2 separate regions of the Homo sapiens genome follow, and region 1 is linked to region 2. Evidence: promoter capture Hi-C in human tissues and cell types (Jung and others, 2019). All regions are on one chromosome and are shown on one strand. The core of a region is centred on a gene start or on the middle of the fragment in contact, and the rest is flanking DNA. Distances in the headings are between cores, read along the strand shown. Region 1 has its middle 38 kb from the start of OR5H6. Region 2 holds the start of OR5H2 (olfactory receptor family 5 subfamily H member 2).

Region 1 (5,311 bases), core at 2,691-5,190, 58 kb after region 2:
CTAAGCCTTTTGCTCAGTTACCTTTTCACCCATGAGAATAAAAGGAAACTAGACAAATGCCCCATTAAGTCAATTCCTCAGATCAACCAGGTCTGCCTTCTTTAACCACCTTTACACCTTGGTCAATGTCTGAGCTCCATGCAATAATGAAAAATGTCCCTGTTCCAAATAAAAGCCCCAGAAATTTCCTGTAGAATTTAGAATCCTTTTTGGATCATATGATCCAGGACTCTCTGAATTTCACCAATTTATTCAAATGATACTGGAACCTGGTGAAGCCTGCAGCTGAAGCCAAATGTTAGGTAACTAAAATAGATAATAAAGATCCACCCCTCGGCCAGGCGTGGTGGCTGACGCCTGTAATCCCAGCACTTTGGGAGGCCGAGGCAGGCGGATCACGATGTCAGGAGATCGAGACCATCCTGGCTAACACAATGAAACCCCGTCTCTACTAAAAATACAAAAAAATTAGCCAGGCATGGTGGCGGGCGCCTGTAGTCCCAGCTACTTGGGAGGCTGAGGCAGGAGAATGGCGTGAGCCCGGGAGGTGGAGCTTGCAGTGAGCCGAGATCGTGCCACTGCACTCCAGCCTGAGCGACTGAGTGAGACTCTGTCTCAGAGAAAAAAAAAAAAGATCCACCCTTCAATCTTCCAGGAAAACACACCAAAAGCTGAGAAAATAACAAATAATCTTCTAGAACCCATCCCATAATATTTCCTCAATAATTCACTGGTCTGTCATTCAGTCTTGTAAACACAGAAAGAAGAACCAGTTCTGTAAGGCAAGATTAGAAGTACTATTTGTAAAACATTCCGGTCAATCCATGTTGAGTTCAGAAATAGAAAGTACTTATCCTATTTATTAATGGGATTCACCCTAAACCATTAATCTAGTTATAAAATAAACATGGTTTGATAATCCGACCAATTAATACCCAAAATATTTCGCATCTCTGGCACAAAGCCTATTTTATGTTAGATATTTTGAGATCCCATTATAAGAGAAATGTAAAGGAATCTCCATTTGTAGGATGTCTCTCTTTCTGGTCCCCAAAGAGAAGTTTGAGTAAATCACTAAATAGTGGTGAAAGCACTGATTCAGTCTCTGTCACAAACCTTACCTTTGTAAGTGTGGTTATCTTGGCTATCTTGTCCTGACTGTGTCTATCAACACTCTTTTTGTTTGTTTGTTTTGGCAAATAATGACATTTAAATATGAATTCTAAGCACTGTGCCTTTGATATATAAGGCTGATGGTATCATGAATGTTTAGGTAAGTAGCTATGATCAAAATCTTAACAAGCACATGGAAAAGGCTCTGAGAAGTAAAGATTTCTGGTAACATTAGAATCACAACATCGTACCAGATTTAAAGAATCTTTATCAGAAATTTGGTCAAGTATACCCTTTGTAAACAGAATTAAAACATTTACCTATCTCTCCCTAGCTGATCTATCCAGAATTCAGAAACTGAGTATTCTACTTTTGATGACAATATAGGTATTTGTGAAAGTTTAATAAGAATTTGTTCTTCTTGTAAGATAACACATTTGGAAACATTGGTTGTATGACCACAACTTTGACTGGAATGTCATATTGGAGAATGTGTGTAGAATTAGATATGACTAGACAGTTTAAGGAACTGTCTTTATTAAGGAATTGACTTTATGAAGCTAATTATGCCTTGCCTTAGTCCATTCAGTGTTGCCTTAAAGGAATACTTGAAGCTAGGTAATTCATATATAAAAGAAGCTTATTTGGCTTAAAATACTGCAGGCTATAAAAGAAACATTGCACTAACATCTGTTTCTGGTGAGGGCTTCAGCCTGCTTCACTCATGGAGGCAGGTGAAATGGAGTTGGCATGTGCAGCGATCACATGACAAGAGAGGAGGCAAGAGAGGAAGCAAAGGTGTCAGGCACTTTTTAACAATCAGCCATCATAGGAACTAAGAAAGTTAGAACTCACCCATTATTATGGGGGATCCGTACCCATGACTCATACACGTCCCATTCTGTCCTACCTCCAACATTCAGATTCATATTTCACCATGGGATTTGGAGTGGTCCATCCAATCAAATAGCAGCAAGTACCTTCAGAAAAACCGACCTGATATCTGCTCACAAGTTTTCCAGCCTTATTGTTTGAGAGGAAGGTCACTTTCTGGAAGGCTCAGGAAACTGAAAAATATTTTTAGTACCTATTTTGAGTAGAGGAGAGTTTAGCTAATTCTATGGATATTGCAGGTAAACACTGATTTTATGTTCTTGGTATGATTTCATAGCCTGGACAGGCTTTTAAAGTTGAATCCGAGATTATTTATTAAAAGTTCTAACAAGGTAAACTTAAAAAGAGATGATCAATCCTATTCCTACTGCACTTATGTAAATACTCAGTTGAAGTTTAATGAGAGTAGACTTGTTTTGTAAACAAATTAATCTTACTATAACTATATTTGAAAGAAATGGGTGTGACTATAGAGGGAAGATTTATGTTTCAGTAGATAACTGTAATGCACCCATTATTAACTTCTTGTTCTGTCCATTGTCTTTGAGGTTTTATTATCTACCTATAAACTGCCCTATTCCTGAAGCCCTGCAAGCTAGGGCTGGGCAACTTGATATAAACTTCAGAGGACAATCTTCATGCATGCTGCTGTGTGGGCTGCTAAGGAAGTTCACCAAAACATCCAATGACATAAACTAAGCTTGTCCAACATGTGGCCCACAGGCTGCATGCAGCCAAAGATGGCTTTGAATGTGGCCCAACACAAATTAATAAACTTTCTTAAAATATTATGAATTTTTTTGTGATTTTTTTAGCTCATCATTTTTTAGCTATCATTAGTGTTAATGTATTTTATGTGTGGCCCAAGACAATTATTCTTCTTCCAATATGGCCCATGGAAGCTAAGACATTGGACATACCTGACATAAACAGAGACATTCAGATTACTAACCAGAAAAATCATTAGATTGCAACTACCATTTTATTTCATCATCTAAAGTTGCTTTGAGCTTAAATCTAAAAATCTTCTCAACTAACTGCTCTCTGGGCTCAATACTAAATTCACAGATTGTTATAACCATTAACCTTTTCTTTTTATTTGGTTTATTTCTGTTGGTTTGGTTCACTGGCACTTTGGCTATCGAGTATATACCAGTACCTTGTTGTTTTCCTTGTGATAGTCATCACTGTAATCTTCCTGGTATGCTGTATTTTCTCAGTAGTCTTATAGCCATCAAAGTATGCCAGGTTTTCTCACTGTGATTAGAACGGCAAAAAAAGAAAATAAATAAAATATTTAAAAAATAAATAAATAAAAAATAACTGAAAAAGAAGCTTCCTTAAGAGACTAGAAATTATAACTTATGAGTTCTATGCTGAGACAGAGACAAACCAGAAAAAGCGGCCTGTGTGCTTGAGTTTCTGTCAATAATTCATAACTGAGAGGGAGGCTGACCAAAAGGGAAAAAATAATTAATATCATTAAGTAAAAGTTCCTTAGGATGAAGTGGCTCCAGCAAAGTGGGTTCCTGTCTAAGCAAACAGAAATGCAATTCAGTGTAAAAGGTAAAACAAAAGTTAAATTTAAACAACCAGAAAATGCCAACTCACCCCTAACTAGGGACTTTTCACTGGAGTGAAATAATGCTACTGCTCCACTTTAACCAATAAAATATTTCTTTTTGCATTCCTTCTGCATTCACCTTATAAGAGCCTTCATCTCACATGTTCTCACTCATAGGTGGGAATTGAACAATGAGAACACTTGGACACAGGAAGGGGAATATCACACACCGGGGCCTGTTGTGGGGTGGGAGGAGGGGGGAGGAATAGCATTCGGAGATATACCTGATGTAAATGACGAGTTAATGGGTGCAGCACACCAACATGGCACATGTATACATGTGTAACAAACCTGCACGTTGTGCACATGTACCCTAGAACTTAAAGTATAATTAAAAAAAAGAACCTTCATCTCCTCTCTTGCCCCTTCAAAAAGCCCCAAACCACATGCAGTCTCATGTTGCAAAATACATCACCATCTCCTCAAATAACCACTAAATTCTAGTGCCACTACATTCATATTTTAACTATATATGTATCTATGTATATATATTACATGACTCTACATACACATAAAAAATAAACATGTGCATAGATATTGATACCTGAAACATACATGCATATAATCAGGTATCAACGACAATCCAACAAGAGGCACTGAAAAGAGATATAACTCATTAGAGTTTTGTTTGCAAAAAACAATCTGACAGCAATGTTGGGGAAGTAAGTGAGTGCTAGAGGATGGAGGAAATAAGTAACTAGAGGTTTCCAAAACAATATGTGAATAGTTGTTAGAGTAAGGGCCTCAGTGGTATCAGTAAGAATGTGAAAGGAATTTTGGCGTCTAAACATCTTCATCTTTTGACAGAGTGGAATGGTCGATGAATGACTCATATATTCAAGAGTATGAAGTGTGAAGAAGGCTAACAATCAAAGACTTTTTGAGGCAGAAAATATCCAAACTCTTTCTCATGTCCATCTTTTTCCCTCTACTCACTGGGCACTGTGATGTCATATCATCTTAACATTATTTGAACTTTGGTGATGTGAATTTAAAGCCCCGGGTTGTCAAGAACACATTCCAGTAACTTTGTATTATGACTTTTTCTTTAAAAAATCTTAGTAGCTTCATTTTTTTTCTAGGAAGATTAAGACCATTTTCTTCCCATTACGCCACTTATCTTTTCTTCTCTATGCCTACTTCATATTAGTTCTTCTATTTAACCTTTTAATTTTCTGAATTAGGGAAGAGTTTCAGATTGTCTAAAACATAAACATGCTAGAAAGGAAGTTAGAAGCAAATATAGAAAGTTAGGGGCAGCTTTTCTTTTCCTGCTCATATAAGCACAATGAGTTAACAGCATTCTCTTACACCTGTTAACACCTTTCTCATTTTATTTCTAATTGTGTTTCAATTTCAGTTTATTTCTTTACTGGAAATGTGAGTTGATTTCATACAAGAAGTGGAATTCACCCTTTCCCAAAAGTGAAATGAAAGTCCTTTTGAGGACTAGCAGAATTATTGGGATTTACCTCTCTTCACACAAACACAAATTTGCCTCCACTATGAGTTAAATGTGATGGGCGTCTCAGGCAATATAGTTGTAATAGTATCAAAAGCATCACACTCAAGTCCTTATCAGATGAACTAGATAATTTTAGCGTTTAATACATTGATAAAGACATATTGATTAACATACAATCTATAAAATATTTTTATTTGCTTTCTGCTGTCATTATG
Region 2 (6,075 bases), core at 2,535-5,034:
TTGGTGTGAGTGTAAATTAGTTCAACTATTGTGGAAGACTGTGACAATTTCTTAGAGACGTAGAGGTAGAGATACCATTTGACCCAGCAATCCCATTACTGTGTATATACCCAAAGGAATGTAAATCCTTTTATTATAAAGACACATGCACACATATGTTCACTGCCACATTATTTACAGCAGCAAAGACATGGGATCAACCTAAATGCTCATCAATTATAGACTGGATAAAGAAAATATGGTATATATTTATCATGGAATGCTATATAAACATAAAAAGGAATGGAATCTTGTCATTTGCAGGGACATGGATGGAGCTGGAGGCTATTATTCTTAGCAAACTAGCACAGGACCAGAAAATCAAATATTGCATGTCCTCACTTATAAGTGGAAGCTGAATCATGAGAATACATGGACATATGGCAAGGAACAACACACACTGGGACCTGTTGAAGGGTGGTTGGTGGGAGGAGAGAGGGGGTCAGAAAGAATAGCTGACGGATGCTGGGCTTAATACCTGGGTGATAGGATGATCTGTACAGCAAACCACCATGGCACACATTTACCTATGTAACAAACCTGCACATCCTGCATCCCTGAACTTAAAAGTTGAATTTTTTTTAAAAGAAGCATAAATAAAGTGCTAATTGTTTTAAATGAGTGAACACCCCCATCCACTTCCAGGTAGGCAGAAAAAGCTTTGTGGATGAAAGCTTTATAAAATGGTAACATTTCATACACACCTTGAAGAAAGTTATCATTTCAATTGCAAGTGACTTAGAGGTGAGTTGCAGTAGTAGGGATTCTCTGTGGAGAGAGCTATATGAACGAAAACATGCACCTGACAGAGTAAGGAGTGTACAGAAGTCTCCTGGTAACTCACTTTGGCTGCAACACAGGTTCCATCAAGATAATTGTGGAGGAAGAGTCTCCAGAGTTAAACCAAGAAGTTTTTTTGCAAAAGATCTCAAATAATTCAGGGTGAATAAATACTAGCTGAGGCATATATATGCATATTATACAATCTGTACAGACATATAAACAAACATATCCATATGTATATATTCATATATAGATATATGTACCACATATGCATATAATCTGCTAGCAATGACAATCCATTAAAAGGTAATTAAGTAGGACATGAATTAATTAAACTTAAATGCACAAATTATATGGCAGCATTGTTTAGGAAATAAGAGACTATAAAAGGATAAGGGAGATACTAACTAGAGTCTTGCAAAACAGACAGGTGAGTTGTTTCAGGTTGGGGACCTGGGTGATATAAATGGGAATGTGATGAAATGATATACATAGGAATATAGATGAAATTTTAGTGTTGAAAGAGGAAGAGTAGGGGTGACCTGAAGATGGATTACTCATAATACAGCAAGAGGATGTAGTGTGAGGAAAGCTAAAATGTAAGGACTTTTGAGTCACAAAACATCCATACTCTTGCTTATTTTCACACCTTTCGCAGCCACCCACTGGACACGATGAGATCATATCATTTTAGCATTATTTGATCTTTGGCAATATGCATTTAAGGCCACTTTTTATCCATAACAAATGCTAATAATTATGGAAATATTACTGATTTCCTTTTCTTATTGTTTTCATTTTTTTAATGCTAGAAAAATTGATACCATTTACTTTCTATTCTGGCATTTTTCTTCTCTACATCCATGCTAACTTAATTTTTAAATTATCTATTAGCTTTCTGAATTCGTTAGCAATATGAATCTTTTCATGTTTTCCAGTGTCATACAAATACAACTGTAAAAGGCCTCTGAAGGCATCGTCAATAAAGAGAGGCAAGTTGCCTTTTCTTATTACTCATAGAAAGGAATAGAGATAAAAGTACCCTCTTAGAGTTTGGCCTTGCATTGACGGTTTTAACTCACTTCTCATTTTATGATTGCATTTCCCATTCTATTTATTGCTTCAAGTGATATATGAGTTAAATTCTTATAAGAAGTGAAGTTTGCCAATTCCATAATCTAGAGTAAAAGACCTTTTGAGGGACAGCTGATTCCTGAGATCTTTATCGGCTCAACCAAACACAAATCTGCCACCACAATCCAGTTAAATGTGATGTTTCCACACTATACAATTCTGTCAGCTGTATTATATTTCCTACTCAAATACTTTTGAGAGGAACTACAGTGCTTTAACACTTAAGGCATTTATAAAGCCACATGAAGAGTATTTAACCTATAAATGTTTTCATTTGTTTTCTGCTTTAATTATCTAATATAACATGAACACCAGGTTAAAATTCCTTGGATGCTTTTGAATAACATATATAAATATTTTAAGGAGTTTATTAGGTATAAAACCCTAAGTCATTAAAATGCTAAAACAATTATATTTACAATAACTTTGAACACTTAGCAAAACACCTTATCTAACTGCAAAATTCTTTTTACTGAAAATGAGAGATATCACTATGAAATCTAAACATTTCTTTTTACCATTTTTGTGAATGAATCTATTACTTGTTTATTTCTCAGACTGTAGATAATGGGATTTAGCAAAGGAATTATGATTGTATAAAAGACAGAGTCTATCATATCTTGGTCATCTGCTTGTGGAGATGCAGGGCGCAAATACATGAAGATAAGTGGGCCATAATATAAAGAGACAGATAAGAGATGGGCTCCACAGGTGGAAAAGGCTTTCCTTACGCCTCTAACAGACTTCTTTTTTAGGATTGTGAAAAGAGCAAATGTGTAAGAATTAAGAACTGTCACAATGGTGAATACCTGAATTGAGCCAGACAAAATAAAAACCATTAGAAAATTAATAGAAGGGTCAGTACAGGAAATCATAAACAGTGGTATAATATCACAGTAAAAATGATGTATTATGTTAGAATTGCAGAAGGTTAATCTGAATATAAGGACTTCATGAATTAAGGCATGGAGGAAGCCACCTAAAAATGAGAAGGCTAACAGCCGTATGCATAGTGAATTGTTCATAATCACTGGATATAGTAAAGGTTTGCATATGGCTACATAGCGATCATATGCCATTGTTGCCAAGAGAAAACATTCTGTAGTTCCACCAAATGCAAAGGAAAAAAATTGAATCATGCATTCAGACAGAGATATCATCCTGTTTTTGGCCAAGAAATTAACCAACATTTTGGGAGTTACTGTGGAAGATATCCAAGCATCAACAAAGGCTAAACTCCCAAGAAAAAAGTACATGGGGATGTGAAGTTGTGGGTCATTCCAGATAAGAGCAATCAGACCAAGGTTCCACACAATAGTGATGAGATAGATCACCAAGAACACCAAGAACAGGGGCATTTTCCACTCTGGCTGATATGTAAGTCCTGTGAGAACAAACTCTGTCAGCAATGTTGTATTATCCTGTTCCATGTCCTCATTCGACATCCCTGAAATGAAATGCAGTAAATGTAAAAGAGCATTCACTAAGACTTATACAGCAAATACTGGGGGAGGGAAGTTGATAGAAAAACATACTCTTATTACAATACCCTTTTAATTTTCTTTCATATTCCTGTAATAGATGGAAACTGTTTTGGGAAATATAAGAAATCAAAATAAATGCAATTATTTTAATTCTAAAAATGTGATCAAATAATCTACTTTTAAAATGCAGATGATAGAAATGCATGTAATGTGTGTTAACTTAAGAAAATCACTATTTGTAAATTTAGAAAAGGAGAGAAGACTTATTTCTTATAAGGGGTTACAGCCTGCAAGGTGGCCATCAAGTGTGCTGGGAAGCATGCCTCTGGCCAAGACCAGAAACAGGCACATCAAAGGAGGAGGGCTTGAGGTAGGAGCTTTAGGCTAAATAAGTTGGCTAAATATACATATTCAACAGGTTACGGGAGGATCTATGAGTATTCATGAAGGTAGCCTTGGCACATGCATATTGAACATGTATGTAACATACAACCCATGTTCACATTGGAGTGGAGACTTAACATTTAAATTTGTTACAGTTAGGCCCTATACATCAAAAGGTCTTCTCAGGACATGAAGGCCCATAAATGCACTGTCTCTGTAAACCAGCCAGAACCAGTCCGTGGTCAGTTTTCCTCTTATCTGGAGAAAGTTACTGACATCAGTCTCTTGTCCAATCAAAGCTGTAGTTATGTCTGGTAGCAGGGGTTCAGTTACTGAGCATCTGGTGCAGCTGCAAATTGTTTTAATCCTGCTTGTCTTGAGGCCAGTGCCTGTTTAGCTACTAGAGAAAAAGAAAAACCTTGTGGCAGTTAGAACACAGTTTATTCTTTAAGTGTAGAGGTGCCTGACTTAAACCTTGCCTGGTGTGGCCTTAGGTTCTGTTTATAATTTGGAATCTTATTGTCACAAAGAATATGTTCTGTCAGTCTTATAATCTCTATCTTAACATTAATACCGGTCAGTTGTCATGTCTAAATTGCAAAAGAGAGGAAGTATAACAAGGCACATCTGACTTCCCACCCTGTCATGGCTGAGAACTAAGTTTTTACAGTTTTTCTGGAGAACTTTTGGCCAAGAGGGGGTTCGTTCTGTTGATGGGGGGCTTTGAATTTTAAGTTTGCAAGTGCCTAGTCCATGTGTATTATAATCTTGCAAATAATGAGGATGAAGAAATAGATTCTAAAGCATTCAGAAAGTAGTGTCACTAGGACTTAGTCACATATTTGATAGAAAAGTAGTATTCAGTGAAGGAAAAAGGAGTCACTTTGTGAGTAGGTAGATTGTCATTCAAAATAGAGACTGAGAACTCAGGGGCATTGACAAGTTTGCAGTGTGAGCATGCCTTGAATATGTAGGTGAGATGTTTGGTATTAGTAATACAATTCTACTAGAGTGATAGAAATAACTTGGGAGTCACTGGAGTAGTTGAAGGCATAGTAATGGATGTCTTACCTATTGGAGAGTACATTAAGAAAAGAAAAGCATAGCACCAAAAATACTTGATAGTATAATGACCTAATTTCCTTTGGGTATATACCCAGTAATGGGATTGTTGGGTCAAATGGTAGCTTTGTTTCAAATTGTTGAGAAATCTCCAGGCTGCTTTCCACAGTGGCTGAACTAAAGTATTTCCACCAACAGTGTATAAGCCTTTCCTTTTCTCCACAGCCTCATCAGCATGTTTTGTTTTTTAATAATAGCCATTATGACTGGTGTGAAATGGTATCTCATTGTGATTTTGATTTGCATTCCTCTGATGATTAATGATGAGCATTTCTTTTTTATGTGTGTTGACTGCCTGTATGTCTTCTTTGGAGAAGGATCTGTTCATGTCCTTTGCTTATTTGTTAATAGGGTTACATTTTTTTGCTTGCTGATTTGTTTAAGTTCCTTATAGATTCTGATATTAGACCTTTATTGGATGCATAGTTTGCAAATATTTTCTGTCATTCTGTAGGTTGTCTGTGTACTCTATTGATGATTTCTTTTGCTGTGCAGAAGTTCTTTACCTTAATTAGGTCACACTTGTCAATTTTTGTTTTCATTGCAATTGCTTCTGAGGACTTAGCCGAAAATTCTTTGCTAAGGCTGATGTTGAGAAGAATACTTCCTAGGTTTTCGTCTAGGATTTTTACATTTTGAAGTCTTACATTTAAATATTTAATCCATCTTGAATAAATTTTTGTGTATGATGAAAGGAAAGGATTCAGTTTCATTCTTCCACATATGGCTAGCCGCCATGACAGCACCGTTTACTGAATAGGGTATCCTTTCTCTGTTGCTTGTTTTTTGTCAGCCTTGTTGAAGATCAGATTATTCCAAGCGTGTGGCTTAATTTCTGAGTTTGCTACTCTGTTCCATTGGTCTATGTGTCTGTTTTTGTAACAATACCATGCTGTCTTTGTTGTTAAAGTCACATGCACTCCTATGTTCATTGCTACACTATTCACAATGGTAAACACATGGAATCAATCTAGGTGTCCAGCAGGGGTGGATTGGATTTTTAAAATGTGGTACATATACAAGATGGAATACTACTCAGCCATAACAAAGAATGAGATCATGTACTTTGCAGCAGCATGGATGCAGTTGGAGGCCATAATCCAAAGCAAACCGACACAGGAGCAGAAAA

The links. Contacts are between HindIII fragments. The study calls those that stand out against the background at their distance.
Region 1: a contact is called between a fragment that was not itself captured here and the fragment with the promoter of OR5H2 in region 2, in 2 of the 25 tissues and cell types used here (ovary and stomach).

What each region holds. Positions count from the first base shown.
Region 1 is chr3:98,223,184-98,228,494 of GRCh38, reverse strand. No RefSeq gene overlaps it. Among named protein-coding and RNA genes, the nearest start is that of OR5H6, 38 kb to the left of the region's middle. The HindIII fragment of the contact is 3,420 bases long and covers 2,231-5,311 here.
Region 2 is chr3:98,280,214-98,286,288 of GRCh38, reverse strand. OR5H2 (olfactory receptor family 5 subfamily H member 2) reads right to left here and starts at 3,784. Exons shown (of 1, transcript NM_001005482.2): 1 at 2,219-3,784. The coding sequence starts at 3,386. The coding sequence ends at 2,457. All of the region lies in intron 1 of LOC105373999 (a long non-coding RNA gene), which reads left to right. The HindIII fragment of the contact is 8,138 bases long and covers 1-6,075 here.